3 separate regions of the Homo sapiens genome follow, and all the other regions are linked to region 1. Evidence: promoter capture Hi-C in human tissues and cell types (Jung and others, 2019). All regions are on one chromosome and are shown on one strand. The core of a region is centred on a gene start or on the middle of the fragment in contact, and the rest is flanking DNA. Distances in the headings are between cores, read along the strand shown.

The links. The method cuts DNA at HindIII sites, captures the fragments that hold promoters and counts their contacts. A contact is called where the count stands out against the background at its distance.
Region 2: a fragment that was not itself captured here is called in contact with the fragment with the promoter of SPATA24 in region 1 in 1 of the 25 tissues and cell types used here (dorsolateral prefrontal cortex).
Region 3: a fragment that was not itself captured here is called in contact with the fragment with the promoter of SPATA24 in region 1 in 1 of the 25 tissues and cell types used here (dorsolateral prefrontal cortex).

What each region holds. Positions count from the first base shown.
Region 1 is chr5:139,402,024-139,405,754 of GRCh38, forward strand. It overlaps SPATA24 (spermatogenesis associated 24), which reads right to left and starts at 2,066. Exons shown (of 6, transcript NM_194296.2): 1 at 1,921-2,066; 2 at 605-670; 3 at 1-22. The coding sequence starts at 2,037. RefSeq lists enhancers at 1,430-2,003, 1,829-2,058, 2,004-2,576. The HindIII fragment of the contact is 8,558 bases long and covers 1-3,731 here.
Region 2 is chr5:138,472,031-138,475,761 of GRCh38, forward strand. It overlaps the pseudogene RPL7P19. Among named protein-coding and RNA genes, the nearest start is that of EGR1, 8.4 kb to the left of the region's middle. The HindIII fragment of the contact is 5,437 bases long and covers 1-3,731 here.
Region 3 is chr5:138,648,000-138,651,730 of GRCh38, forward strand. No RefSeq gene overlaps it. Among named protein-coding and RNA genes, the nearest start is that of HSPA9, 74 kb to the left of the region's middle. RefSeq lists an enhancer at 2,493-3,291. The HindIII fragment of the contact is 3,444 bases long and covers 336-3,731 here.

The sequences.
Region 1 (3,731 bases), core at 816-3,315:
TGGCATGGGCAGCTTTCTCTTCCTGCAGGGGCAGCAGCAGTCACCTCATTACCCTAGGCCGCCTTGGGTCTCCTAGACTCCCTTAACCAGCCCCCCTTCTCAGAGGGACACACAGAAGCCAGAGCACAGGGAGATTCTGGCCACCTTGCTACAGGGGCTGGAGGTTCTCAGAGGCCGACCTTTCTTTTTTCTTTTTTCTTTTTTTTTTTAGACAGAGTCTCACTCTGTTGCACAGGCTGGAGTGCAGTGGCATGATCTCAGCTCAGTGCAACCTCCACCTCCTGGGTTCAAGCCAATTCTCCTGTCTCAGCCTCCCAAGTAGCTGGGATTACAGGCGCCTGCCACCACGCATGCTTGGCTAATATATATATATGTATATATATATTTTTTTGTATTTTTAGTAGAGACAGGGTTTCACCATGTTGGCCAGGCTGGTCTCGAACTCCTGACCTCAAGTGATTTGCCCGCCTTGGCCTCCCAAAGAGCTGGGACTACAGTTGTGAGCCACTGCACCCATCAGAGGCTAATACTTAATGAGCCTGCCTAACCACAGGGATCCTGGGAAACGGGGGAAGATTAGGAGACCGCAGAGGCCATTACTTACCACCAGCTTCTTCTCCACTGCCTGGAACTCTTCTTTACTGACAAAATTTTCGTCCTGGAGAACCATCTGCAACAGAGCCTGGCTGAGGGAGGGCCTGGGGCTGGAGTAGAAGGGGCGCCCTCTAGGGACCAGGACCAAAAGCGGATAACAGGATGATGCTCGTGGTACCTAGGATGAGACTGAGGCCTTGGGAAGGGAGAATTCAGTTCCACAGATAAACTGAGACTCAGCTCTAAGTGCTGCCCTCAAGGAGCAGCCAGTCTCATGGAGGAGGCAGTCCACAGTTAGCACTTCTAACATGTTGTGTGCCTTGATGGGGAGACATAAGGGGATCTGGGGCTCAGAGGAGGCCCCAACCCAGCCTGGGGAAGGGTCAGAATCACTTCCGGAGAAGGGGATGTTAGACCTGAGATCTGACTGCTATATAGGGTGGGCCAGAAGAGGGATAGAGAGAAAAGCACTCTGGATGGTGGGGACACACATGCCAAGGTCAGCTGCCAAGAGGAAGACCTGGGTACCTTCAGGGAATCAAAGGCAATTCAGTGCCTAGAGCTCCATATATTTTGTTGAATGAGAGCATTAGGGTAGCAAATAGGACAGGTCTCTCTCCCCTTTCCCCCACATTCAACTTCCCAGAAGGGAAGAAATTGTCTAAGAACAACTTAGAATGAGAAGTAGATGTGAAGCCAGTTTTATTTCTGAGATGGAGATACATCCTAACCTTCTTATCAAGACAGGAAAACAAAACCAGAAAAACCATGAACTCCAGATGGCCAGGATTCTATCATGCCTACCCAGGTAATCTGTGACTGCAATGCTTTGCACCCATTAGCTGGGGTTTGATTGAGAAGGCAAAAGCTAAGGCATGTAAAGTTCTTGGAGGCCCCTAAGTTAGCGCTGGCAAGGGCCAAATCTGCGCTTACTGCATTCAACACGGCACTGCCTTTGACTCTCGGGAATGGTGTCCATAATAGAAGGGATGACAGTTTCTCTGCCTGCACAGGAGGGCCATGGGAACTCAGTGACGTCATCTCCACTGAAAATGGGGAAACTGAGGCTCAGGGACTCTCTACCAGCTCTTGCAGCAACCAGGCAAACGGAAGGGAGAATATGGCTTGATTTTAGTTAAAATTCCCTGGTTCAGGAAGGTCCGCCCCTTTTTGGCTCCACCCCTACCGACTGAGCCCGGCCTCCTCCTGATGACGCCATGGGCCATGCGTTCTAGCCACGGCCCCCGCATCGGAACAGGTTCTGGCCCCGCCCCCACCAGTGAGGCATCCGGCCCCGCCTCTCCCCAAACTCCTCTGGCTGCATACCACGTTCCTCAGCTGGTGGATTAGTTCCTCCTGAGACTCAATCACGTCCCGCAGTTGATCTAAAGCGAGACACACAGATCCTGACCCCGCCTTCGACCACCCGAGGGGCGTCGCCATCTTCCGCCCCCGCCAGCTAGTTGGAAATGGCTGCCTCGGGGGTGATCCTCGCCGTCGCCCACCAATGAGAATGCGACGCCACAGAGCACCCTGGCAACGGGGGGCGGGGACTTCCTATGTTAGCGGGGCGAGGGGCCGCCTCTTAAAGGAGCCGCCTGGAGCGGGGAAACTGCTGACAACCCTTAAGGCATTTAAGTTTACAGGAAATTGCGCTTTTATTGCGTCTTCTGTTTCTCACGCAGTCCTGAGAAGCCGGCAGGGCCCGGCTTGTACTTTCCTTGCCTGCGAGCAGGCAACACTCAAAACAGCAGCCCTCAGCCTTCACCCAGGGCCTGTTAAACTGCATGACCACGAAGCAAGAGCCAGCATAGGCAACTCCTGCATCTTTAGCTTCTCATGCCTCTTTCTCCAAATCTTTATCCTAATCTCCAAATTTCCTCCATTGTATGAGATTCCAGCCTCCTGGAACACACTTAGTACTTAGGGGTCCTAAGCCTAAGCACGGAAGATAGACGAAGATAAAAAATGAGAATGGCTACACCTGAGATCAAAGTCTTCATACTCTGATACCAGGCTCTGGGCACTAGAGTCTGCACTAGAGTCATGTGCCACCACCCGAGGAGGAGGACCCTGAAGAGATTAGGAGGACTGAAGAGGGCTTGAAGGAGGAGAGTTTAGTAAAATGAAGTCAGGGAAGGATACGGTGATTACGCACACTCACCAAGTCTCTATTGAAGGCTTTTTTTTTTTTCTTGGAAACCCAAATAAGATTAGGTTTGGAGAACATCAGAGCGAATATATATTGTGTTCACTATTTCGTGGCACCGTTATGTTTATATTATTTCATGTGACCCTCATGGAACTCCTATCAGCCCCTTTTTACCTAGGCTCTATGAGAATGAGAATGAATAACTTGCCCAAGGTCACTCTAGTAAGTTGTGGAACGGAGTTCTGCTATGGGCAGTTTGGTTCCAGGGTCCGTGTTTTTGTTTGTTTGTTTTTTGAGATGTAGTCTCGCTCTGTCGCCCAGGCTGGAGTGCAGGGACGTGATCTCGGCTCACTGCAAACTTCACCTTCCGGGTTTAAGGGATTCTTCTGCCTCAGCCTCCCAAGTAGCTGGGATTACAGGCGCCCGCCACCACGCCTGGCTAATTTTCTTATTTTTAGTAGATACGGGGTTTCACCATGTTGGCCAGGCTGGTCTCGAACTCCTGACCTCAGGTGATCCGCCTGCCTCGGCCTCCCAAAGTGCTGGGATTACAGGCATGAGCCACCGCGCTGGGCCTGGAGTTCATGTTCTTAACCAGGATGTTGTGCTGCATTTGTGTTGCACGTCATGGGTGGAAGTTATGGAATTTGATACCCCCAAGTAGGAAATGACTATACTAACAAGGAGTTTGGAAAAAAAGTTACCAGTGACTATGAAAGGAGGCAGAAAGCTCAGGGTAAGTCATTCAAGCCGCTCCCCAAAACCCCCCGGGGGGCCTGACAAACTTGGCCATCCCTGTGGTTCTCTCAGCGGGAGCCCTTGTTTTGTTTCTTGCGTTTATTTTCATGGACTTGGAGACAAGGCCATCTCTGCTGACCTCTCTCTCTTTTTTTTTTTTTTTTTTTTTGAGACGGAGTCTTGCTCTGATGCCCAGGGTGGAGTGCAGTGGTGCGATCTTGGCTCACTGCAAGCTCTGCCCCAACCG
Region 2 (3,731 bases), core at 782-3,281, 930 kb before region 1:
TTCTGACAGTCCAAACTTAAGTTTCTTTTCATGGCTGAAATAGGGAATGGGGCAAAAAGCTGCTCCCTTTTACAGTCCTATAGTATAAGGAATGTGTTGGCTGATATAAAAATAAAAATATAAAAATAATAAGTGTTTATTTAAATTCCTACTCCTGCTAGGGAAATAGAAAACCAAGGGCACGAGACAGTGCTGATAAGAGATCTCATCATTATAAAGGTTAAGGTTGGAGAAGGGTCCCGGAGAGTGTTGAACAAGTGATTGCTACCTGGGGAAATTGTCTAGGGCTTCAGGAATATGAGGAAGGACAGAGAGGAGTAGGGTAGAAGGGAGTTGGGGGTGGGGGACTGGGCTAAGGACAAGGACAGGTTTTGATTCTGAAGTGAAAGAACCAGGTCCTAAAGACCCTTGACCCTTCCTCCTCCTACCTGAAAGGTACTCTTTTGCTTGAATTTCAGGAACGTTCAGCCTCGTTCTCACCTGTTTTGAAAGATTCCAAGCACTCAGGAAGGCGGAGCTTGGCCCGGGATTTGCAGCACGCTGGAGTTTTCAGTGTGTTTCCTTCCACCTTCCCCCTATTCAGAACCGCCCCTATCCCCCAGGTATGGAACTGGAGGCAGGTAAGAGTACTATAGGGTCAAAGGTATTCCCTGCCAGTCCCCCTCCCTGCATCCACACTGTTTTCACTGTTTCAGGACACACTTAATGCAGTTGGAGAGGGGAAGCCATTGGGCAGAGGGATATCCCAGAGTCCTAAGGGAAATGAGGCCAAGTTTAAAAGAATCAGATGTCAAGCAAATAACATTTCAACATTTTACCCAGAAACCTTTGGGTGCTAATAAGATTTTTGCACCCAAATAGCAAATCTAACCCTCTACTTCAGTAATTTTTCTCTCAGTCTCCTTATCTCCATTACTAGGACCTAGGAGAGCCTCTGTGGCTAAGCTTACTTCAGATGACCTCTTAGGTCAGATCGGTGGCCCAGCAACTCAGATGCAAGTAAAATCTCATTTCCCTTTCCAGGGAGTTCTCTCCATCAAGCCCATTCTCCTTAGCACTTAGGGTTTTAAAAATTATTATTACAACTCTATTGAGGGCTGTGTATGGTGGCTCACACCTGTAATTACTGCACTTTGGGAGGCTGAGGCTAGAGATTGCTTGAGCCCAGGAGTTCAAGACCAGCCTGGGCAACATAGGGAGACCCCGTCTCTACAAAAAAATAAAATAAACCAGGCATGGCAGCCCATGCCTGTAGTTCCAGATACTCGAGACGCTGAGGTAGGAGGATTGCTTGAGCCTGGGACATCAAGGCTGCAGTGAGCTGAGATTGTGCCTCTTCACTCCAGCTTGGGCAGCAGAGCAAGACCTGGTTTCAAAAAAAGTTTTTTTAAACTATTTTTGTATTTTTTAAGCCAGGTGCGGTAGCTCATGACTGTAATCCCAGCACTTTGAGGGGCCGAGGCAGGTGGATCATCTGAGGTCAGGAGTTCAAGACCAGCCTGGCCAACATGGTGAAATCTGGTCTCTACTAAAAATACAAAAATTAGCCAGGCATCGTGGCAGGCACCTGTAGTCCCAGCTACTCAGGAGGCTGAAGCAGGAGAATCGCTTGAACCCCGGAGGCAGAGGTTGCAGTGAGCCAAGATTGCACCACTGCACTCCAGTTTGGGCAACAAGAGCAAAACTCCATCTCAAAAAAAGAAAGAAAAGAAAGAAAGGCAAGGAGGAAGCTTATCTGTGAAAAAGAAAAGCACTATCACAAGGAATATAGGCAGATGTACAGAACTGAAATTCGAATGGCGAGGATGGCAAGAAAAGCTGGCAACTTCTATGTACCTGCAGAACCCAAATTGGCGTTTGTCATCAGGATCAGAGGCATCAATGGTGTGAGCCCAAAGGTCTGAAAGGTGTTGCAGCTTCTTTGCCTTTGTCAAACTTCAGTGGAAACTTTGTGAAGCTCAACAGGCTTCAGTTAACATGCTGAGGATTGTAGACCCATATATTGCATGGGGATACCCAAATCTGAAGTCAGTAAATGAACTAATTTACAAGCATGGTTATGGCAAAATCAATAAGAAGCGAATTGCTTTGATACATAACACTTTGATTGCTTGATCTCTTGGTAAATATGGCATCATCTGCCTGGAGGATCTGATTCATGAGATCTATACTGTTGGAAAATGCTTCAAAGAAGCAAATAACTACCTGTGGCCCTTCAAATTATCTTCTCCACGAGGCGGAATGAAGAAAAAGACCACCCATTTTGTAGAAGGTGGAGATGCTAGCAACAGGGAGGACCAGATCAACAGGCTTATTAGAAGAATGAACTAAGGTGTCTACCATGATTATTTTTCTAAGGTGGTCAGTTAATAAACAGTACCTACTCTTGGCTGGGCGTGGTGGCTCATTCCTGTAATCCCAGCACTTTGGGAGGCAGAGGCGGGTAGATCACAAAGTCAGGAGTTCGATACCATCCTGCCTAACACGGTGAAACCCCACCTCTACTAAAAATACAAAAAAATTAGCTGAGCATGGTGGCGGGCGCCTGTAGTCCCAGCTACTGGGGAGGCTGAGGCAGGAGAATGGTGTGAACCCAGGAGGCAGGGCTTGCAGTGAGCTGAGATTGCACCACTGCACTCCAGCCTGGGCGACAGAGCGAGACTCCATCTCAAAAAAAAGACAAATAAATAAATAAATAAAACAGTACCTACTCTCAAACTGAAAAAAAAAAAAACATGCCCGGCCTCCTCCTTGCCTTTTGAAGCATCTTTTGGGCAAACTTCTTTCTCAGGTGCTTGATTTCCAGCTCTTCGAAATTCTTTTTCTTTTTCTTTTCTTTTTTTTTTTTTTGAGAAGGAGTTTCGCTCTTGTTGCCCAGGCTGGAGTGCAGTGGCACACTCTTGGCTCACTGCAACCTCCGCCTCCCGGGTTCAAGCGATTCTCCTGCCTCAGCCTCCCGAGTAGCTGGGATTACAGGCATGTGCCACCACGCCCAGCTAATTTTGTAATTTTAGTAGAGAAGGGTTTCTCCATATTGATCAGGCTGCTCTCAAACTTCCAACGTCAGGTGATCCGCCCGCCTTAGCCTCCCAAAGTGTTGGGAGTACAGGCGTGAGCCACCACGCCCGGACTCCTTCGCTTTTTCTTAAGGGTTTCTGGCACAGCAGGAACCTTCTTCTTCTCTTCTACACCCTGCATGTTCCAGCCGGAAAAAGAGGATAGAGGGTCTTATATATGGAATCATTCCATATGTCCTTGATTTGATCTGGCTTACTTCACTTAGCATCACTGTTCAGGATTCACTGATGTTGCTGTGTGTACACTGCAAATAGTTCACTCCTTTTCATTGCCAAGTAGCATTCTGCTATATGGCTGTGCCCCAGTTGTTCATCCTTTCCCCTGTGGAGGGACATCTGGGCTGGTTCCTTTGGCGCTATTATGGATAAAGCTGCTGTGATTATTGGAGCACAAGTCCTTGTGTGGATGTGTCCACATTTACTCCAAAGTTTCCCCCCAACTGTTCTGGCTCCTTCTTCCCACCATATCCACATTTTTTCACATCCCTGGTGCTTAAAACAACAAGCACCCATCTTCTCCCACACTCACAGTCAAAGTCTCCTAAAAGATATGCTTCCTTTAATCATTGCTCAATTAAACAGAGCGAGCCCCTTTGTCTTTTTTTTTTTTTTTTTTTTTTTTTTTTTGAGACAGAGTCTTGCTCTGTCACCAGG
Region 3 (3,731 bases), core at 808-3,307, 750 kb before region 1:
TGGGGCAGGAGAAGGAGAGGCCACAGTGGGGGCCGGCATGCCTGCCTCCTTGGTCTTTAAGCTGGGTCTCTTGGTACCATGCCTGCCTTGCACTGTCCCCGTTCCTTGTGAATCCCAGGGTCCTAGAAGCTTACCCCTCTCTGCAGGGACCACCCTCAGAGACTTTCCACCAGAAGATTATGCTAATATCCACAACAGCTGATGTTTATTGAGTATTCACTGCATGCCAGGCTGTGCTAGAGGCCAGAGTGCTCCGGCTTGGGGAGACGTGGCTGCCTCTCTGCAGCAGGTGAAGGAGCTTTTCCAGTGAGGGAGCCCCTGCATGCTGCAGACTCTGCCTGAAATCTCTCCGAAACCTTTGGGAGATTGGTATCACTTATCTTCTCTGACCAATGAGAACAGTTCCTGGTTTTGTGATCTCCCAAGTCCCTGGTGTGGATGTTCTGTGAGCTTCTGAATTCTCCTCTCCTTTCCCCACTGACAACTCACCTGGCCCTACACTCATTATGAAAGAATATTGAGGCCAATTAGCCTTGACAAGCTTCATGCCCAAGGGGCAGCTTTCAAGTTTCTGGTCCTCTAAGACCTGCTCAGGCCACCTATGTGTCTCTGCCCACTCAGAATTCTAGGAGCAGCTCCCCTCTCCATCTCTGGGCAGGACCTGGCTTTGAGTAAGGGCTAGAGTGAAGGAGACTGGGAGAGGGGAATAGCCAGCTTTAGCCTCACAGCCCCGTAGTCAAGGGGAGTCCTCTGGGAGGGCGAGAAGAATAGCAAAGCAGGGAATGGAAGGTTCAGGAAGAGGCAGGCGGGACAGGGAAGGGAAATGGAGAATGTGTTTCCAACATCCCCTGGGTTTCCTCTGTCCCTGTCTCCTTCCCCCACTGAAAGAGGAATGGAGCTGGCTGGCCTTTCTGGGAGGCATAGTCCTCTAGCCTCCCAACCCTACCAGCCTCCTCTCTGTCCCCAACTGCTCCTTCTCTGGCTTCTCTCCAGAGCCCAGGGCCTCCCTGTGTCATCAGTTCATTATCATTCTGATAAAAGTCATTAGTCCTTGAAAAAGCATGATTCCCCAGCTGAGGCCAGCCCCCGCTAACCTGGGGAGGAATACAGATGGATGGAGATGTGGGGGTGGGGACAGACAGAGGCACAAACACAATGACACTTGTTTCCAGGAGGTGTGTAAATGGACACAAACCCACTGGTGCACACGGCCACACACCTTTACACACAGGCCCAGGGATGTCTCACATGGTCACCAGAGAGCCCACAGGGCTACATCACTGGAGGCACACTCAGCTGCTTCCAGTCCCAGAGAATCACTCGACACTGAGACCCAGCACCCAGCAGCCTCAGCCTCCTGGAAACACAGAAGCTGGGCTCCGCAGACTCTGGGGGCGGGGGCAGGGAGTGGAATATGGAGGCCAAGGTTAGAGATCTCCGAGTTCCATTAGCCACAAGAAGCGTGTCCGGAATCTAAAAGTGCAGGGACAAGGGCGCTGCAGAGCCGGTTCCTGACAGTGTGTCCCCATTTCCCACCCCTTCCACCACTGGGAAGCTCCTCCCTGTCAGCAAAGCCATTTAGGGATTAGAGCAGCTCCCTCAGTAAAAGCTGCTTATTCAAAAGGTGCTTTCAGTTCATTTGCATTCACTTCATGGATATTATAATGCGTGGAGGAGCTTCCTCCTCAGTCCCTCTTTGCTGTCCCCAGATTGAGTCCCTGGCCCATGCAAGGTATCAGTTTGGGCTGGGCCAAGCTTTCCAGTGACCTGGGGATCTTGTCAGGGAGTGGGAGGTGATAAACACTGACCATTAACCCCTGGTCCTCAGAAGGCAGCTCCGGGGACAGCTAGGAGGGGTCACAACTGGAGTTTTCCCAAGGGAGAGGAAGGAGGCCAAGGTCTGGAGAGGCCTCTCAATTCCCCCGGGGTCATAAGCCTGGTCTCCTAGGGAAGGAGGAATCTGCCCAGCTGCTGTCTGCAGATGGGGCTGCCACAGGGGAGCAGGCAGAGTCAGCCTCAGCTTTGAAGACCTTCTCTTTGGCAGCCACCCCACCCCGGCTCCATGCATTCAGTTCATTCAAAGAGTATTTAACTAACACCATGATGTGTGAAGCTTGATGCTAAGTAACTGGAATACAGTGTTGACCAGGCAATGTGGCCCCTGCCTTCACAGAGCTTCCACTCCAGGAGTGAAAACCCACAAAAAATGAAGACACAAGACAATATGGAATAATATGAATTATACCTAGTACCATAACAAACAGGGCGCTAAGATAGAAAGTAATAGGTCAGGGCCGGGGGACCGTCTTCAGATGGGGTGATCAGTAAATGGTGGACACATAACACACCTGCAGTTGAGGCTTCAGGGAGCCAGCTTCGCACGACTGCACTCCAGCCGGGGCAACTCTGTCTCCTAAAAAAGAAAAAAAAAAAAAGGAAGAAAGAAAAATTTCTTTCTTTCTGTGTGTGTGTGTGTGTGTGTGTGGTTTTTTTTTTTTTTTTTGAGACAGAGTTTTGATCTGTCACTCAGGCTGGAATGCAGTGGCACAATCTCGGCTCACTGCAACCTCCTCCTCTGGGTTTTAGGAGATTCTCCTGCCTCAGCCTCCCAAGTAGCTGGGATTACAGGCATATGGCACCATGCCTCGATAATTTTTGTATTTTTAGTAGAGACAGGGTTTCACCAGGTGATCCGCCTGCCTCGGTCTCCCAAAGTGCTGGGATTACAGGCATGAGCCACAATGCCTGGCCAAGAATTTCTTTCTTGATTTGTCCTTTTATCACCTCAAAGGTGCATCATGGGATTTCCCATCCCAGCTCAGGGGAAAGGCATGGCTGTGCCTCTTCATCCCCAGATCAGCCTATGGCGAGGCTGCCGTCTTTTGGACACTCCAGTGAACGTGCCCACCTGCCTGCTCTGGCACATCTGACAAGGCTGGAAAGAAGTTGCCATTTTCGGGGAGGGGTCAGTTTCAATGCCTTCCCACCAATTGGTCCGGAGCATGTCCACAGTTCTGTACACTGGGGAGCATCCAGTTCAGGCTTGGCTGAGTCAGGCAGATCCAGAGCTGCCCACCCCTCTCCCCAGGCCAGGGCTCCAGAGACCCTAGAGCCATTTCCAGCTTCCCTGCTGCTCCTCTCACCATCAATCAGGGGCTGGGATGTCAGAATCAGGACTGGGGGAAGCCACTCACATCCTGAACCACCCCCCAGGGACATAGGAATATGAGGCGAGGATCCTGAGCTCGAACATTTACAGGTAGCATTCAGGATTGAAAACTGATTTATAGTCTGAAGGCAGGCAGGAGGGAGCGGGAGGAAGGTGGGAGCTCTGTGTACAGTGCAGCCTTGTGGGGCGGCGGTAATTATATATTACGTTGAACTGTCCTTGCAGCACGGTGAAGGGCAGTGGGAATGAGACTCTAAATCACGCTTCCGTGATGCTCCCCATAGCTCACCTCCCTGTATGTGGCCCCAGAGGCCAGGGCTGACACTTCTCCCTTCTCCCCAGCCCCAGCACCACCGCCTGCCCCCACCCCCACACACACAGAGCCCAGTGGCAGGGCCAGCCTGACTGACTGGGGGAGAGCAGGAAGATGGGATGTGAGCAACTCTGGCAGCTTCCAGGGGCTGCTCATCCTGCAGGCCTCATTGTTTATTGCCCCCGCAGCCGCCAGCACTTCCCACTCTCTACCCCGCTTCTTCCACTGGGGCCTGTATGTGCGCTGTGT